Regions from separate parts of the Homo sapiens genome. Here region 1 is linked to region 2. Evidence: promoter capture Hi-C in 16 types of primary human blood cells and fetal thymus (Javierre and others, 2016). All regions are on one chromosome and are shown on one strand. Each heading gives the region's core, a stretch centred on a gene start or on the middle of the fragment in contact. The rest is flanking DNA. Distances are from core to core; before and after follow the strand shown.

Evidence for each region. The method cuts DNA at HindIII sites, captures the fragments that hold promoters and counts their contacts. A CHiCAGO score of 5 or more calls a contact.
Region 1: a contact is called between a fragment that was not itself captured here and the fragment with the promoter of GRM6 in region 2, in 1 of 17 cell types (megakaryocytes). The highest score is 5.5, in megakaryocytes.

What each region holds. Positions count from the first base shown.
Region 1 is chr5:178,718,614-178,721,789 of GRCh38, reverse strand. All of the region lies in intron 4 of ZNF354A (zinc finger protein 354A), which reads left to right. Among named protein-coding and RNA genes, the nearest start is that of ZNF354A, 10 kb to the left of the region's middle. The HindIII fragment of the contact is 527 bases long and covers 1,112-1,638 here.
Region 2 is chr5:178,994,028-178,996,843 of GRCh38, reverse strand. GRM6 (glutamate metabotropic receptor 6) reads left to right here and starts at 1,524. Exons shown (of 11, transcript NM_000843.4): 1 at 1,524-1,568; 2 at 1,884-2,403. The coding sequence starts at 1,900. The HindIII fragment of the contact is 9,329 bases long and covers 1-2,816 here.

The DNA of each region.
Region 1 (3,176 bases), core at 126-2,625, 270 kb after region 2:
GGTCGTCTGTAAGGGGGAGTCGAGTATGGGAGATATCTTGCTTAGAGGATGAGTCTATGATTGAAGTTGCCTGTGGAAAGATGCAGAGTGAGAAGAACTGGGGGCCTAGAACTAAAGCTAAGGCACTCCAAGGATGATAAACTGTGGTACGTCCACACAGCTGTAAAGTGGAATGAGGAGGACCTCTGTAACTTCTACTATGGAGTGATCTCCAGAATGTGAGAATAAGTGCAGAACAGCACAGTTAGTACTGTTATCTAAGAAAGGTGGGTGGGAATACCAAGAAAAGTGTGTGTGTATTTACTTACACTGTCATGGAGCACATAATGTTTCAGTCAATGATAGCCTACATATATGATGATGCTCCCATAGATGATAATACTGCATTTTTCCTGTCCCTTTTCTATGTTTTAATATGTTGAGATGCACAAATACTTACAATTGTGTTACAGTAGCCTACAGTATTCAGCTAAGTAACATGCTGTATAGGGGTATAGCCTAGGTGTGTAGTAGCCTATACCATCTAGATTTGTGTAACACACTCTGATGACTGCACAACATCGCCAACAACGCGTATCTCAGAACATATCCCAGTCATTAAGCAGTGCAATTATTTTTTTTAGAAAGATAAAAGCAAAAGAAAAAAAAGGAGATCAATAAAAATGGTTATCTCTAAGGTGAAGGAAGAAAAAGGATGGAACAGGGGTAGAATCTATGACTTTTTGAGGTCTCAAAATTTTGACTTCAGAACTATAAAAATGGTTTATAAAATTATAAGACAAAATTAAACAAAAATGAGAAAGTACCCCCTACATATTGAAAGCAGAATGAAACAACCCTAATTGTGTTCCAGGTTGGTGGCTTAGCCACAAAAAGAATTATTTGAATTGCCTTTACATTGCAGCAGTTTGACTTATTAGTGTAGGTATTCTAGGGGCAAAAGTAACTGCAAGCAGTGGTGTTAATTTTGATGGATGTGCTAAGAGCGGTTTTGATGTTTTTACAGATGAAATGATTTTGCTGTCTGGGATGTGCTCTAGCATAACCTAGTGGACGAGATGAAAGGGTTTGTGTTAGTTTGCTAGGGCTCCATACTGAAGTACCACAAGCTTCGTGGCTTAAAACAGTAGAGATTTACTGTCTCACAGTTCTGAAGGTCAAAATCAAGATATTCGCAGGGCCCCGCTCCCTCTGAGACTCTGCATAGAATTCTTCCTTGCCTTTTGCTAGCTTGTAGCGATGGCCAACTTGGAGATCTCCGTGGCCTGCAGCTGCATCAGTCCTATCTGTGCCTCCGTCTTCACACTGTGTTCGCCCGGTGTCTTCACATCATCTTTCCTTCTGGATGCCTGTGTCCAAATTTCCCCAGTTTACGGGGACAGCAGTCACGCTGGATTAGGGCTCACCCCAATGACTTCATCTTAATTTGATTGAACGTGCAAAGACCATATTTTAAAGTAAGGTCACGTTCTGAGGTCCTGGAAGTTAGGACTTCTACGTCTCTCTTTTGAATGATGCGGTTCAGCCCATAACAAGGTTGTCAATAGAATAGTGTTGCTGGTTATTGAAACTGGCTGGAGATTCACTGTACAATTCACACTACTTTTACATATGCTGAAAATTTCTATGTTAAAAGCTTTAAAAATAAGAGTTACCACAACAACATTTCTAAAACAGCTTTTCTCTTTTCCACCAGCACAAAGATGATAGAGGATGTTTACAAATAGGCAGTACTACCCCCATCATGGTTTATGTGCAGTTCCCAGCAGATTGCTCCTTGAGTTCTCTGACTCTAGAAAACCTTGTGAGACTGCAAATGCAAGTGACATTTTTTTTTTTTTTTGAGACGGAGTCTCGCTCTGTCGCCCAGGCTGGAGTGCGGTGGCGGGATCTCGGCTCACTGCAAGCTCCGCCTCCCGGGTTCACGCCATTCTCCTGCCTCAGCCTCCCAAGTAGCTGGGACTACAGGCGCCCGCCACTACGCCCGGCTAATTTTTTGTATTTTTAGTAGAGACGGGGTTTCACCGTTTTAGCCGGGATGGTCTCGATCTCCTGACCTCGTGATCCGCCCGCCTCGGCCTCCCAAAGTGCTGGGATTACAGGCGTGAGCCACCGCGCCCGGCCGCAAGTGACATTTTTATAGGTGGAGCTTTTACTCTGACTAGCTATAGGATAAGGTGGGGGTGGATACTTCAGCAAATAAGTCTGGAAAACTGACTTGCATTCAAAGACTTGGGTGCTGCCTTCAGCCCTTGTGCTACCCCTTCATCTAGCCTATGGCGATTCCTTTCACATCCTATCTTATATGTCAATTCTTACGAAACACTCCAGCAGCGTCCTGCTGCACCCCTTTTCTACCTGCACCCTCACTATCTAAGGACAGTTGGATATGATTCTAAGCTCGTGTTCACGTCCATTTCTAGCTTATGTTTCTATTGTAGAAATTGTCACATTGTATTGTGATTACCTACTGATGTCTTCATTTCTAATGTCTGACTATAAACTCTCTGAAGAAATCAACTGTTCCTTTTAATTACTGGATCCGTAGGGAACTGTGGATCACCGATGCCTAGGATAGAGCCTAATACATAGTAGGTACTTTTTAAATATTTGATAAATTAATAAAGTAAGGCGTGACCAATGCTTTTTGAAATAACATGACCAATTCTGTGTATTAAGAGGGGTAAATCCAGTGGGAAATAATACTGGAAAGGCAAGAAACAGGTCAAAGGAATAACTTAAGATCAGGAGCAAGTCACTCTACAGTGAGGAGATCCTGAACTTAGACATATTCACGATGGCTTATTAGAGACATTTTAGTGATGAGATTTAAGAGAATGTGCAGCCTGGGCAACACAATGAAACCCTGTCACTACGCAAGATAAAAATATTAGCCAAGCTTGGCAGTGTGCACCCGTAGTTCCTGCTGCTCAGGAGGCTGAGGTGGGAGAATCGCTTGAGCCCTGGAGTTTGAGGCTGCAGTGAGCTATGATGGCACCAGTGCATTTCAGCCTGGGCAACAGAGCAAGACCCTGTCTCTCAAAAAACAAAAAAATGAAGATTTTGATGACTGCCTAGGGAAGAGAAATTCTAAGATAAAACTAAGAATTTACGGTAAATTAACTGAAGAGATGATGGTGTCATTTTGAACTGGAAAACATATAAAAAAGGTTTGA
Region 2 (2,816 bases), core at 275-2,774:
AGGTGTGCATGCCTCCCTCCTACACGGCGAGGACCCCCTGCCAGTCCCCCAGCTGCTGCCCCCGCTTCCTGATGGTCTGTCCTCCAGACAGGGGCAGTGGCTGCCTTGGTCATGCCAAGCAGGAGGCTGCTGTGTGCTGGGAGCTGTCAGGCTCGTCCTGAACAGGGAAGGGCCCATCCACCTCCCAAACCCAGTTTATGCAGTCCTTCGCAATGTCAGGCTCAGGGCCTGGCACCAGCCAAGCTCCCCACCCTTCCCACTGTTAAAATGGATAGGAGCAGGGCTAGGCCCAGCCTGTTGACTCTGGGCTTCCACCAGGAGAAGTGGTTCTGGCAGTAGAAACTATCGGGGCCTGGGAGAGGCGGGGGAAGAGAGAAAGGTGGCATGTTTCTTGCTTGCTCCCTCTACCAGCCTTGTCCAAATCCCCGCAGCCACCCTAATCCAGCCTGTCTAATGGAGCCCAAGCCGGCTCAGGCCCTCGGACGAGGAGCCTGCTAATCCCTGTGGCTAGGAGCTCACCACCTGTCTCCAGGACGCCCTTTGCTCTCTTGGCATCAGAGAGCCAAATCCTGGGCCTCGGATGGGGGGATGATAAAAGCATCTTTTGGCCAAGCCCCCTCACCTTGGCCTCCACGATGAGATGGGGAGTTAGGTGCAGAGAGCGTTGGCACAGTGAGCACCGCAGCTCGAGTGGCTGCCTCAGACCCAGAGCCCGAGGAGACTTTATACGGAGCCAGAACGACCCCGCGGGGTTCCATCCTCCCAAGCAATAGGCGGGAGTGGGAGCTGCGAGGAAAGCCGGCCCCTCCCCTCCCTCCATCCAAGGCAGTGTGGGCTGTTTGTTTCATGCCATTCTGGGTGTGAATCCTGATGCCCACACATGCCAGCTGCATGCACTTGGGCAACTCAACTCACTCCTCGAGGGCTGTTTCTCGACTGCAGGGTGTTGTAAGTTCGCTAATACTAAAGGCTTCTCCCTCCTGGCCCCTTCCTGCCCCTCGCTCTTCCTCCTCTTCCTTAGGCCCTCCCAGCTCAGGCAGCCCCTGCCCCCTGCAGGGTTCTGCAAGGAGAAAGCTGGGGAATACCTTAGGCAACTGCAGTCAGGAGCACTGGTGGCCAGGACAGAGACAGAGAGACAGAAAAGGGGTCAGGGACAGAGAGAGATAACCGCAGGGAGAGACAGGAAGGGACAGAGACAGAAAAGATTTCCAAGAAGAGGACAGAGGCAGAAAGCCAGGGACAGAGACTGAGAAACAGAGACCTAGAGGCAGAAGAAGACTGAGATAGAGATGGACAGAGATTGTGTCAGACACAGCCCCAGAGACAGCCAGACAGTCTGAGTCAGACGCAAACCAAAGACAAGAAAACAGGAAAACAGACCCAGAGATTGGGAGAGGGAGGGGAAGGAGATGCGGGGAGAGCCAGCACCGCCACCCCCCACACTCAGGAGGGGTCTCCACCCTCGGAGCGGTCTCTCATCCCTCCCTAGAATCCTTAAATCCTCTCTCGCTCAGGGCCTCGGCCGCATCTGTCACAGACTTGTCCTGAACCGACAGCGGCTGGCGCAGGTGACTGGCTTGGGGCGGGAGCCTGGGTGTGCGCTGGGGATGGACCCCGAGGAAGAGGGGCCAAGCTGTCGGGAAGCGGCAGGGCTGGAGGGGTGGAGGCAGTGGTCGGGCGGGACCCCGGGCGACAGGGTTCGGCGCTTGTAAGAGCGAGACGGAGGCCCGGGCAGGCCGGCTGAGCTAACTCCCCAGAGCCGAAGTGGAAGGCGCGCCCCGAGCGCCTTCTCCCCAGGACCCCGGTGTCCCTCCCCGCGCCCCGAGCCCGCGCTCTCCTTCCCCCGCCCTCAGAGCGCTCCCCGCCCCTCTGTCTCCCCGCAGCCCGCTAGACGAGCCGATGGCGCGGCCCCGGAGAGCCCGGGAGCCGCTGCTCGTGGCGCTGCTGCCGCTGGCGTGGCTGGCGCAGGCGGGCCTGGCGCGCGCGGCGGGCTCTGTGCGCCTGGCGGGCGGCCTGACGCTGGGCGGCCTGTTCCCGGTGCACGCGCGGGGCGCGGCGGGCCGGGCGTGCGGGCAGCTGAAGAAGGAGCAGGGCGTGCACCGGCTGGAGGCCATGCTGTACGCGCTGGACCGCGTCAACGCCGACCCCGAGCTGCTGCCCGGCGTGCGCCTGGGCGCGCGGCTGCTGGACACCTGCTCGCGGGACACCTACGCGCTGGAGCAGGCGCTGAGCTTCGTGCAGGCGCTGATCCGCGGCCGCGGCGACGGCGACGAGGTGGGCGTGCGCTGCCCGGGAGGCGTCCCTCCGCTGCGCCCCGCGCCCCCCGAGCGCGTCGTGGCCGTCGTGGGCGCCTCGGCCAGCTCCGTCTCCATCATGGTCGCCAACGTGCTGCGCCTGTTTGCGGTGAGGGCCGCGGGGCCGGGCTCGGTGTCCAGCGTCCCTCTCCCGTCCTCGCCCTGGGGTGGCCCAAGTCTCCTTCCTTTACTTCTTCTGAAAGAGTCTCCGTTTTAATCACTCGAATTCACACAGCGTCAAAGAAGCCCTGTCAGTTGAGCCCGACGCAGGCCTGAATCGGCTCCACCCAAACACTCCAGCCGCCCATGTCTACCCCGCCCCGCGAGGGCGCCCCTTCCCGGGCGGGTGCCACCTACGCCTCTGGCCGGTTGGCTGGGGAGGGCGGCCTGACTTCAGCCCCCATTTGCCAGCCTGCTCGGGTGCCCTTGTTCTGGGCACACCCCTGCAACCATACAAGGTGCTCCTGCCCCCTGGGCCTGCGGAGCGCTCGAGTGATATTGCAACTTTGAGTTTTGTTTGGA